Regions from separate parts of the Homo sapiens genome. Here region 2 is linked to region 1. The links are contacts of gene promoters, found by promoter capture Hi-C in blood cells and fetal thymus (Javierre and others, 2016). All regions are on one chromosome and are shown on one strand. The core of a region is centred on a gene start or on the middle of the fragment in contact, and the rest is flanking DNA. Distances in the headings are between cores, read along the strand shown.

Evidence for each region. The method cuts DNA at HindIII sites, captures the fragments that hold promoters and counts their contacts. A CHiCAGO score of 5 or more calls a contact.
Region 2: a fragment that was not itself captured here is called in contact with the fragment with the promoter of PLPPR1 in region 1 in 1 of 17 cell types (M0 macrophages); the score reaches 5.5 in M0 macrophages.

Annotation. Positions count from the first base shown.
Region 1 is chr9:101,026,403-101,032,453 of GRCh38, forward strand. It overlaps PLPPR1 (phospholipid phosphatase related 1), which reads left to right and starts at 2,325. Exons shown (of 8, transcript NM_207299.2): 1 at 2,325-2,700. The HindIII fragment of the contact is 3,390 bases long and covers 1,135-4,524 here.
Region 2 is chr9:100,715,308-100,721,358 of GRCh38, forward strand. No RefSeq gene overlaps it. Among named protein-coding and RNA genes, the nearest start is that of CAVIN4, 140 kb to the left of the region's middle. The HindIII fragment of the contact is 241 bases long and covers 2,084-2,324 here.

The DNA.
Region 1 (6,051 bases), core at 1,075-3,574:
TAATGAAAATATTAATAACCAAAATAAGAGCTACAGGTTATGCAGAGCTTGTTAGGCAGTAGGCACTATGTTAAGTGCTTTATGTACATCATCTCACTTAATGTCCCTGTGTTTTCCCTACTGTCCCCAAACAGTAAAAATCTCTTCCAGAACTGCTCATTCACCATCTCCTAGCAGACACACCATAAAGAGATTTCACTTTATTTGCAATTCTGCATTTAAAAATTCTCCTTCACCCTTCACCTTGTTGGAGCTACTTTCTGCTTTGAGATGGCGAACAGGTCCATCTGCTTAGAGATGGTCCCTAAGCATTGAGGGGAGTGGTATCCCTTTCCCTCTCACCCAAGGCCAGGCTCAGATAGAGTGGGCTTCTTGGCCAGGCAACCCTGGATACTTATCATTGTAGGAGGAAGTGCCTTAGAATTGTCTCCTATTGAGTGAACTGTAAACCCCAGCCCCTCTTAGTTCATGAATTCAAAGCCGTCACTCACCTTGTGCTTACGCACCAGGGCAAAGAGAATGGCTATCTTGCCTCAAGGAAGCAATTGGCCCTACCAATACTAACACCTTGCAATTCTAGTGAACACTGTTTACTGTTCTGAGGGGAACGTGACAACAAGGCAGATCTATCTTGGATGCCTTCCAAGAAGCCGAGCACCAAAGGGAAGTCCTGATATAAACAGGCATGGAAGGAGGAGCTCCAAATACCCTACATGGTTCACTATAGAGGCTTTGCTGCTCTTCAGGAGAACCTGATCTCCCCTACCTGGTGGATGGAGACTTACTCTCACTTGTCCTTTAAGCAAAGAGATGCTGCAATTCTACTTCTTTCAAGGATCTACTGAGAAAATAAACCTGCCACTACACCCAGGGCACTTTCTCTTTTTAAGAACTTTCCTTTTTTTCTCTCCTTCCTCTAAGTCTGTTCTCCTAAACTTTTGTTGGTGGTATTTAGACATGCTGTTTTTTTCTCCTCTGGGTGTGCTCTAGGATTTGATCTAATTGTCCTGCTGTTCGAGTGTCACTTGGCATTATTATTGGGAAGATGAATGGTATGTGGGTCAGAGTTCAGCAAGAAGGCATCTGCTCGCTTCCACTGTAAAGTGGAAATGCTTAGAGGTGATCTTTAATGAAAGCTTGGAAAAGATTTGCACAAGGCAGGCTGTCCTCTATTCCTCCAAAGCAGAGGGGACCAAAGGTTATCCTTTTCTGGAGGGACAGAAAATGAATAAAAAGGAGGTAGAAATCTCTTTACAGGGAGTTTCCTGCTTGGGATGTCTTTTCTTCTGTAGGAAAGAAAATGGGGTGTGGTGTGTGGGGAGACAGAACGATTAAACAGGGAAGAGATTGAAAATAGAAGCTCTTGAATGGATCCTAACCATTCTGTTTTGCTCACAGAACAATCTGATCCAAGAAGTTTCCACTCTACTTGCAACGACTCTCACCTGCCATCTCCCCTGGCCTCAGGTTACTGTGCCATAGCAGGCTCAGGTTCTCTTACTGGACTCTCTTCGAGTTGACAGTTCTCCCACTTTACCAAATAGCCAGAGGCCTCACAAAGACCTAGAATTGCGTTGGCATTCTAGGCAAGGGGACAATGAACCCATTGTTCTTTTTTTTTTTTTTTTTTGCCTTCTTAAATAGGGCAAATATCTCTTCCATTTACCCCTATCATCAAAGGAGGCTTAGTATGGGGTCCTCAGAGACTCACCTTCCTTCCACTCCTCCTTTGTTGTTTGGAAGAGTTATCGCTAGCCCCCTTCTCGCCCTCGCCCCATTAAAGCTGTTGTGGGACCCGACTGGACGTTGCCTTTTCTTGCTCTTAAAGGAGTGGAAGTTGGGAGGGGAAGAAAGAAGCACACACCAGGAAACTCATTTTAGTTCGGGGCGACCTGCAGCCTGTGGTTCCTCCTGGACCTCTGGGGAGACGCATCTCGGTTGCCCGCAGGGTAGAAAGCAAGAGAATGGCCCACAGGAACGCCCGCGCCAGCGCTAAAACCACACCGGGAGAGGACAGCCCCACGTTACCGAGGACTCGAGGCAGAAGCGGTCTCCAAGGATGGGTGGGGATCCCACCACTGGCTTCCAGCTCTGCATGCGCCGCGGAGTCCCCGCGCAGGGCGCACCTTTGCGGCGGGGTTTCCCCGCTGCCTTCTGGGAACCCCGCGGAGCGACTGCCGCTGGACGCAATCTGGCTGGCTTGCCTCTACCCCGAGCTCACTCTCTCTGCTCTGTCTGGGCTCTGGAGCCAGAGCTGAGTCTCTCTTGAGCATGCGCAGCCCGGCACCCTCCCCGCCTCTCCCCTCCTCCGCCCCCTCCGCGCCAGCCTTTTGCTCTTTCCTTTCATTAAACAAACAGGAGATCCTGAAACCTGGACCCTGTGCAAGCTGCAGCGCCAGGAGGAGGCAGCGGAGGAAGCAGAGCGCGGGATGGGCGCCCAGCGGCATCTGTGATCCCGCGCACCTCCGCCCCACGGGCGCGCGCACAAACACGGACACACACATACACACACTCGCGCACACACTCGCACAAACACACACTCGTACACGCCCGCGCCGCTCGCTCGCCGGCTTGCTCTCCCACGCAAGCGGAATGCAGCAGCGCCTGGAGAGCGTGTCTCGGACCGCCGCCTGAATGTACCTCGCTCCCGGGAGCCGGACGGCCCAGTAGGGCGCACTGGAGGACGCTCCGCTGCGGGAGGTGAGTGCGGCGCCCGCAGCCGGGCCGCTGGGGAAGTCTCTGCACCGGGGCAGTAGGGCAGCGCGGGGCAAGCTCCTGGCCGGACCCGGCGGCGCAGGTGTCCCATGCCTTGCTTGTGGGTGTCGAGGTGCAGATGAAGGCGGCGCTGGGGCTGTGCAGAGGAGAGGACGAACCCAGGGAGGGTCGCCTCCTGCGAGGTGTCAGATTGACCCAGCAGAAAGCTACCACCTCCCTGCTCATAAACTTTCCTTCCATGTCATCTGGGAAACGTGGAGACAAAGGGGGCGTGGAGGCTCCCTCCGTCCCGTTCCACCCTCCTGACTGCATTCCGGGCTGCAACGCGAGCCTGCACGCGTTGGGTGGGTGTGCAGGCGGAGGCGCCCTGCAGGTAGCTGATGCCAAGTCCTCCCACCCGGGCGGGGGTTGAGATTTCTCACCCCAAGCTGTAAGGGTTGCCATTGATTTTCCCTCAGGCATGGGCACCTGTCATCCTTCCCTTCCACCCCTCTGCGTCCTAGGCGCATAGTGGGGTGTGTGTGTCACCTGGAAAATTGGAGGGGCGGCCTTCGGCTTTCTCATCGAGCTCCGGTGCCAAAGGCGCCGGGGTGAGGCTCGGGTCAGTGCGGGGATAAATGATGAGTTACTGACAGGCTTGCCATAATCACCTCCTAGAACGGAGGACGCTAGGATCTCTCCTCCTCAGGGAAGGTGCTGTCTTCACGCACACCATCGCGGCAGCGCTGGGAGCTGAACAGGGGCTGCTGCTGCGGCGGCGGCAGTGGGAAGACGGGGCTTTATCCTCTCCCAACCCATTTCCCAAGGGTTTTATGACACGCACGTGTGGAATATGTGGAGGATTCTGGATTATTATTTTTCTTTGTGGGGATGTCGGGTTTTTTTCCTTTCAACCTCTTTCCTGGGAGAGATTCTGTGGTGTCTGCTATCTAGTTGGTGGACAGGCACGGTTCTGAATATCTCTTCGGCCCGACGGAAAAGGTCCTGAGAAAAGGATTTCCTAAAATCCTTTCTACTACTGGGGCGGGATCTCAGAGTGCAGTGCACCCGCTGCACCCGGGAAAAGCGTCAAATCGAATGGCCTTTTGAAACAGCAGAGACTGGGTCAGCCTGTGAGGAGTCCAGGACTGGGACAAAGGGAGATAGAAGAGGGACAAATAATGGTCACTTAGGAGAGGTGTGACTAGAGGTTAATGAAGGCAGGAAGAGGTTGACTGGAGGGGACGTACACTACAGCCTTCACTGAATTTCTATGCCCCTTCTGCTTGTATGGTTGGCAGCTCCTATTCTTCTGGTGGGACGCTAGTTTTGAGGTGTCTAGAATGTCACATCTGGAGCGTAAAAGACTTCACTATTTCTGGGATAACATTTAGCATACTTACAAATTAGTTGTTTAGGTCTAGAAAGTGCCTCGTGTGAAAGTTTCTCCATCTTGACGTGTTGGTTGTACCTGAAAGGCGGGTTGGGCAGACAGGTACATTTTTGGCTCTTGTGCACGTCAGGAGCCTTGTATTTTTAGGAAAAGTGTATGGGGAATCTGGAAGCCAAGCTGATGCTGAAAGAAGTAAACTCCGGAAGCTCAGATCCAGTACTTATGCCTGCTGCTCCTCACGGGTGGGGGTGAGGGCTTCTCTTCACTTTGAGATGACAGGTTGGGGAGTCTCTCTGCTGCTTGGGATGGGGACCTTTTTATCTTTAACATTTTGTGACTTCTTTGAAGTGGGAGAAAGCATGATATTTGTGAGATTAATTGAGAAATGACTTATGAAAGTGATCTTCACTCATAAGTAAGCATAGCCAAAGGTGAAAAGCTTTTTTAAGAAAGGAAAAAAAGAAGCAGGGGGTGGGGGGGAATTGGGAAAGGGATGCTTATTATTAAAATAGTTTCGCTTTTATGATTTTAAAGGTATTCAGTAAGATAGAAATCTGAGTGTTTTATTTTCAAATAACTAGGGAAGTAAAGACCTTTCCAGGAATATTTTCAAGTGAAATTGGCATAGAGGGGATTTAACTATAATTGTCAGCATATGTCCTTTTTATCCCATGGTGAACACTCTCATCATTTTCTTTGAAAACCTTGGCAAGAAAAGATCAAGAATATTTTTTGCTTTCACTAGAGCTCTTTATTTGCTTTGTTACTATATATTTCCTCTTCCTTCATCTGCAAGATCAGTTTATTTTGATTATACTAGATTCTATTTACAAGGATTTATTGACCACCTATCCTGTATTTAGCATTGGAAGTCATATAAAATATGTAACATAGTTCTGTCCCTCAAAGTGTTTATGTTCTAGTTGTAAATACAAGATGAACACACATGAAATAGAAAGCAGGATGGTTCTGTATTGTACTATGAGCTCTTAACGTGTATGCTGTACACTTCATCCCCTCCTCCTGGATTTTCTCACCATTCAGAAAACATGTATAAGTACTTGTTACATGCTGGAGGCTGGGGAAAAAAAGATAAGAAAGTAAAAAATGGTCCCAATCATCAAGGTAACAGGTATTTAACTATGATGCAATCTGATTAACTGCTGTAATTGTAGGTTAAACCATGTGCCAATAGTACAGGCATGAAAGTGATTTTTTCCTTTCCCTGGAGGATTTGAGCAGGTGATCTTTGAGAAAAATGAATAGTCTTTTACCAGGGAGGAAAGGATAGAAAGGACATTCCAGGCAGAGGAAATACTTGAGAGTGTCTGATAAATTAGGGTGGCAATAAGCCATCTCATGTGGTTAGAGCCATTGAGGGTGAACAGCATCTGGGTGACACCAGTTAACAAGTAATGCTATAGAGTGAGTTTTTTAGAGATATGCTCAGAATGCCATGGAAGCACAAAGGGAGGGCATCCAACTCAAGGAGAGTAAGAAGATCAAGAAGGTTTCTCAGAGAGCTTGACATTAGCTGAGTCTTGAACAAGGACAAGGAGGAAAGAAGGGCTTTCCAGGCAGAAATATCTCTGAAAGGCCTGGAAGTAGTTCTGTGTGGCTGTAGCGACAGATATGGGTTCTTAGCTTTTTGCAGTGGCACAACATCAAGCAAGAGACATAAGCAGCAATCAAGTGTGAATGGAACTATCCAAGCATAAGAACTTCAATTTTATGGGGAAGGCTAGGGGTGTTTGTTTGAAAGTTGAGAAAGTTTGAGACATGATCAGATTTGCATTAGAGAATGATGACTGTGACTACAGTGTGGAGGATGACTTGGAGGTGTTGAGACTGGAGGCAGGGAACTTATTGTGGAAATGTAGGTGTTAAATGATGAGGGTGGTGGCAGTAGGGGTGGACAAGAGGAGATGTATCTGAAAGACAAGTGAAATAAAGCCTGCTAATAT
Region 2 (6,051 bases), core at 954-3,453, 310 kb before region 1:
TGCTTTCAAGAAATGAATATGGGTAAGTGATAATGATGACAAATTAACACAAGATGATAAAGTAAATGCAAATGCAGGCTGGGCCAAACATTGATAGATGGAGCTGGGGGTGGTATATCCCAGTTGCTCTATTTGTGCTTGATTTCTTACAACAACACTATGAGATCGCATTATTTAAGTTTTTATTCTGATTTATCTGGCTCTGCTCCCACTTGCTGTCATGAACCCCTGCAAAGTCCTCTCTATGTTTTTCTGATAGTTCTCAAAGGCAGCAGCAGTGCAGAGCATGTCATGTGTATGACGAAGAAGTACGACCAGTTTCCACATGGTGTGCATGGTTTTATTCCCTTTCTCCTGATCTCAGGTGCCCATATACAGGGGTCAGTTACTCCCACTGGCCACGGTCCCCTCTGCTCTGTAAGGTGGCTGTTGCTTCTGCTGGTTATTTCTGTGGATGCTCTCCAGCTCTGGAGGTGCCAAACCTGTGGTGGTTTATGTGCAAGTGTGTGTGTGTGTGTGTGTGAGAGAGAGAGAATGTGTGTGTGTGTGTGTGTGCATGTGTGTGTGTGTGAAGGTATGCCTCTTCCTTTTTTTTTTTTTTGAGATGGAGTTTTGCTCTGTCGCCCAGGCTGGAGTGCAGTGGTGTGATCTTGGCTCACTGCAACCTCTGCCTCCCAGGTTCAAGTGATTCTCCTGCCTCAGCCTCCTGAGTAGCTGAGATTAGAGGCGCATGCCTCCACATCCAGCTAATTTTTGTATTTTTAGTAGAGACAGGGTTTCACCGTGTTGGCCGGGCTGGTCTCCAACTCCTGACCTCAGGTGATCCACCCATCTTGGCCTCCCAAAGTGCTGGGATTACAGGTGTGAGCCACCGCACCTGGCCACCTCTTCTCTTTTTAAAAAGAATCACATCCTCCTAGATACCCTCAACACAGTACTGAGAGGCCCCTGGGTTCTTTATGAAAATAGACCTCTTTTTGTCCACCCTGCCAATATATCATTCTTCAAGATTGAGTCTAGATATCCTATTATCCAGGAAGTCTTCCCCAAGCACCCACATTGCTATGTGAGTATCTTCCATCCCTTTATGCCCTCAAACTACTCTGCTTGCTGCTATCTTGGCATAGGATATCAACAACAGTCTAATGGGGCAGATGACACATGACTCCTTGTGGGCAGGGTATGACTTACTCACCTTTGTATCCCCAGCACCTAGGAAACTGCCTAGCCCACAGTAGGTGCTGAATCTGTGTTTATGAAGTGAGCTTATTTCCTCTTTGTCTTTGAGATTTCTTTACCACTGGTCCCTCCCCTGATCCCACCCCAGCCCCTAGCATTCTAACTTTCTCTAGTCAGCTCTTTCTGGTACCTGCCTTCTTTGGCATGATACCCTGAATGCCTGTTTTTACCTAGGGCTCTGGATTTGTGGTTTGGTTTTGAATTGTTCACTAGGTTTTAAACCAATACTTTTTTTTGGATGCTGTATTACTTTCCTAGGGCTGCCATAACAAAGTACAACAAACTGGGTGGTTTACGCATCAGACACTTGTTGTCTCACTTTTCTAGTGGCTAGAAGTCTGAAATTAGGGTGTCAACAGGGTTGGTTCCTTCTGAGGGCTGTGAGGGAGGCATCTCCAGGCCTCTCCGCTAGCTTCTGGCATTCCTCAGCATGTAGATATTTACCCCGTGACTTCACATTGTCTTCCCTTTGTAAGTGTCTTTGTGTCCAAATGTCTCCTTTTCATAAGAACTCCAGTCATATTAGATTAGGGCTCACCCTAATGACTTCACCTTAATTTGATCATCTTAAAGAACATATTTCTAAACAAGTGCAATGGTGTGATCTTGGCTCACTGCAACCTCTGCCTCCCGGGTTCAAGCGATTCTCCTGCCTCAGCCTCCTGAGTAGCTGGGATTATAGGCGCATGCCTATAATTCCAGCTGTGAATATAATATATTCACAGATACTAGGGGACAAGACTTCAACATTTTTTGGGGGGTACAATTCAACCCATAACAGATGCCTCATCTAGTAGCACCTCAATGGTAAATGGCACCACGCAGCTGGCCCAGGTTTCACCAAAGCTTCCCATGGCAGCTTCTGTTTTTCAAGAGGGAGTTCACATGGTATCCAATAGTTGCTAGTTCACTTTCCTTTTCTATATTCTCAAGGAGAATGCAGTACTCAAACTAGGAGGTATTTTTAATCTTTCACTCTTTAAGTAAACTGGGCTGTACATTTATTTTGAGAAGTGAAAAAAAATTTGCTCATTGGCATTGGCATCCAGCTAAAATCAAGTTCAGTAATGCCCCAGGCTATTCAAAGCTTTTGTGCCTGTGACCTATTTGTGGGAAGATAATGTATTAATAATTGTAATGTTATAGCAGCCTCCTGATAATATATTCCAATATTTTATTGGTTTGCTATCTCTGAAAGGACTGGGAACCCCCTGAATAATTCCACTGAGGCGGGATAATCTTAGAAAGTCTCTGAACAGCAGTGAGTCAGCCAGAATAAGCCTGTCTGGCACAATCCACAGGGATCCCCTCAAGAGAGAAAACAAAGTCAAAAGTAGCAGAAACAACTGAGTGGAAGAAGTGAAACCAGTGGAAGATTTAGCCAATTTCCATGGCAGATTTAAGTCACTGGTTTAATGTTGGTCGAAGAGGTGTTCTTGGAGTTGCCTGCATTACGTTGCTTCTCATTTCGATGCTTAGTTTATGAAACATTTATGTGTCTTTTCATGTATTGTTAGTTTCCTCCCCTTTTACTCCCTGGAATGAGAGTCACAAGAGAGGCTACAGAAGAGGTAGTAGCCCCTTCATATCTGATGCAGACATGCAAGTTTTCAGTCCCTTACTGTAAGTTATGCCTTTATGCTACTTGCTTTCAATCCTGGCAATGCCACCATAGATTCTGCTGCAATTGGTCTTGGCTGGGTCGGGGAATAGTGCTTTTTAAGAGCAGCACTGGTGATTCTAATATGTAGCCAATGTTGAGAACCATGCCCTCCATCTTTTTGGCTTGTTTGCTTTGAAAGACAGAAGAGCAAAATTAGGGGAATATTTGCAGTGTAAGGTCTATCTATATTCCTCCAGGACACACATGCCCCTCTCTATCCCCTATCCTTAACTAGGCACATTCATGAAGCAAAAATTCCCTGTACCTCATCATGGCCACGGGCATGAGGGAATGATGCTGGATCATGACCTTAAAGGAACCATGCAGCTCTATGGGCATGAAGAAGCCATGCAGTATGATGGCCATGAGGGAACCATGAGGCTCCATGGGCATGAGGAACCATGCAGCTCCATGGCCATAAGGGAATCATGCAGCTACAGGGCCATGAGGAGCCATGCAGCTTCATGTGCATGAGGTAGTATGCAGCTCCAAGGGCATGAGGAAACCATGCAACAATATGGGCATGGGGGAACCATGCAGCCTCTTGAGCTTGAGAAAATCATGTGGCACCATGTGCATGAGGAAACTGGGTAGCTCCATGTGCCTGAGGAAACTATGCAGCTCTGTGGGCATAAGAGAACCACGACGCTACATGTGCATGAAGGAACCATGCAGCTCCATAGCCATGAGGAAACAATGTGGCACCACGACCATGAGGAAACCACGTGGCTCCATGGGCATGAGGGAACCATGCGGCTCCATGGGCATGAGGGAACCATGCAGCTCCATGGGCATGAGGACACCATGTAGTATCATGGGCATGAGGGAACCATGCAGCTATGTGTCCATAAGAGAACTATGCAGCTTCATAGGCATGAGGAAATTATGCAGCTCCATGGGGATGTGGAAACCATGCAGCTCTATGTCCATGAGAAAACCATGAAGCTCCATGGGCATAAGGAAACCAAGCAGCACCACGTACATCAGGAACCATGGAGCATCATGACAATGAGGAATCCATGCAGCTCCATGGTCATGAGGGGACCATGGGGCACCATGGTTATGAGGAAACTATGCAGCACCATGGGCTGAGGAAACCAGGCAACTCCATGGGCATAAGGAAATCATAGCTCCATGGCTATAAGAACAGCAAGCAGCTGCATGGCTAGAAGGAAATAATGCAGTACCATGATAGTTGATTACTGTTCACAACTTTTAGTACATCTGGTAGTCTGAGCCTTTAGATACTGCATATCCATTTCCTAGTTGAATTAACTTTTATTTCATGTCTTTTAAACTGGGTTCTTGCCTTTTGACTGGATTGGTAAGTTACTGGACCATCTAAGCCTTTTTCCTTATCAGAAACAGTGTCTTTCTTCCTCTGTATTGTGAAATGAGTGCAAATAGCCTGAATGTATTAGTCCGTTTTCACACTGCTGTAAAGAACTACCTAAGACTGGGTAATTTATAAAAAGAAGAGGTTTAATTGACTCCCAGTTCTGCATGGCTGGGGAGGCCTCAGGAAACTTACAATCATGGTGGAAAGTGAAGGGGAAGCAAGTCGTATCTTACATGACATCGGGAGAGAGAGTGAAAGAGTGAGGAAGTGCCACAGTTTAAAACCATCAGCTCTTATGAGAACTCATTCACTATCTTGAGAGCAGCATGGGGAAGATGGCTTCCATGATCTAATCACCTCCCAACCTCAACATGTGGGGATGACAATTCGAGATGAAATTTGGGTGGAGATACAGAGCCAAACCATATCACTGTGCTTGCAGAAATAGCTTGAAAATCTCTTCTATTCTCATCAACATACCTCTGAGGGCATGATTTCTTTTTTTACGTTCTCATAGTAGAAAGAACTGCAACGTAGACTAGATAAGTTAACAGGGAATAGCCAGTTCGTTGGTATCATTAAAGGGTTTAAATATTGACGTACACAGTGGCTTAAACAGTGCATACAGGTTTTTAATATGGAGAATATCTATTTCATAAGAACTAATGAGATGATGTATGTGACGGTACCCAGCACAGTTCATGGAATTGAATGGGTGCTCAATGTGTCTGTGTTTCTTAATTTATTAACTCCTGTGCCAAGACACTTGATGAGGGCTTCCAGCACAAGATGCTGGGAGTCCTTGACCATGTCAGTGATAAGAGTATGACCCATTTCACTGATAGTGGGTTACAATATTTTCTTTTATTTTCTAAGTAACTGAGAATACGGAGGTCTTATCAGCAGGAAGTTCAGAGTTTGTTCTTATCTTTGCTCACTCATGTAGGTAGTAAAATTATTTAAACATATTTTTCTATTTATTAACAAATATTAAAAAGTATCTACTTCCATCAGTGGATGAATGGCTACACAAAATGTGGCCCATACAAACAATGGAATACTATTCATTCTTAAAAATGAAGACAATTCTGATACATGCTACAACGCAGATGAACCTTGAAAACATGATGCCAAGAGAAGTAAGTCAGATGCAAAAGGACAGATAATGTATGATTCCACTTATGTGAGGTATGATAATAGGCAAATTCACAGAGACAGAAAGAACAGTGGTTACCAGGCATTGAGTGGAGCAGAAGAAGAGGAGTTATAGGGAGTACAGAGTTTCTGTTTGGGATGATGAAAAAGTTCTGGAAATGTATAATGTTGATGGTTACACAACATTGTGAATGTACTTAATACCATTGGATTGCATGCTTGAAATGGCAAATTTTATGTTAGGCATATTTTATCACCACCACTACCCCATATTTTATCACCACCACTACCCCCCCCCACCAACACACACACACACACGTAACTACTGAGTATATGCTGGAGGAGAGTAGTGGCTTTCTGGAATATAAACAAAAGCCTTATCTGTAGCATTGGCTGATTTCCATGGTGTAAATTCTTCCTCTGAGGCAGATTTCAAGCTATCAACACAATGACTCTGAACTTGGAGTTGGCAATAGAAGAGCAACATTGGCTCTTCTGAGTCAGTAGGAGCTGACTTCAGCCCACTTCTGACTGGAAAATGAGAAATTTGGTATAACTTGACTTTTTCACTGCTTTCCCCACTTGCCACTTTTTGTTGTACATTGGCAGTTTGAATTAAGGTTAGAAAATTATTATTTTTATGTTAAGTAATATA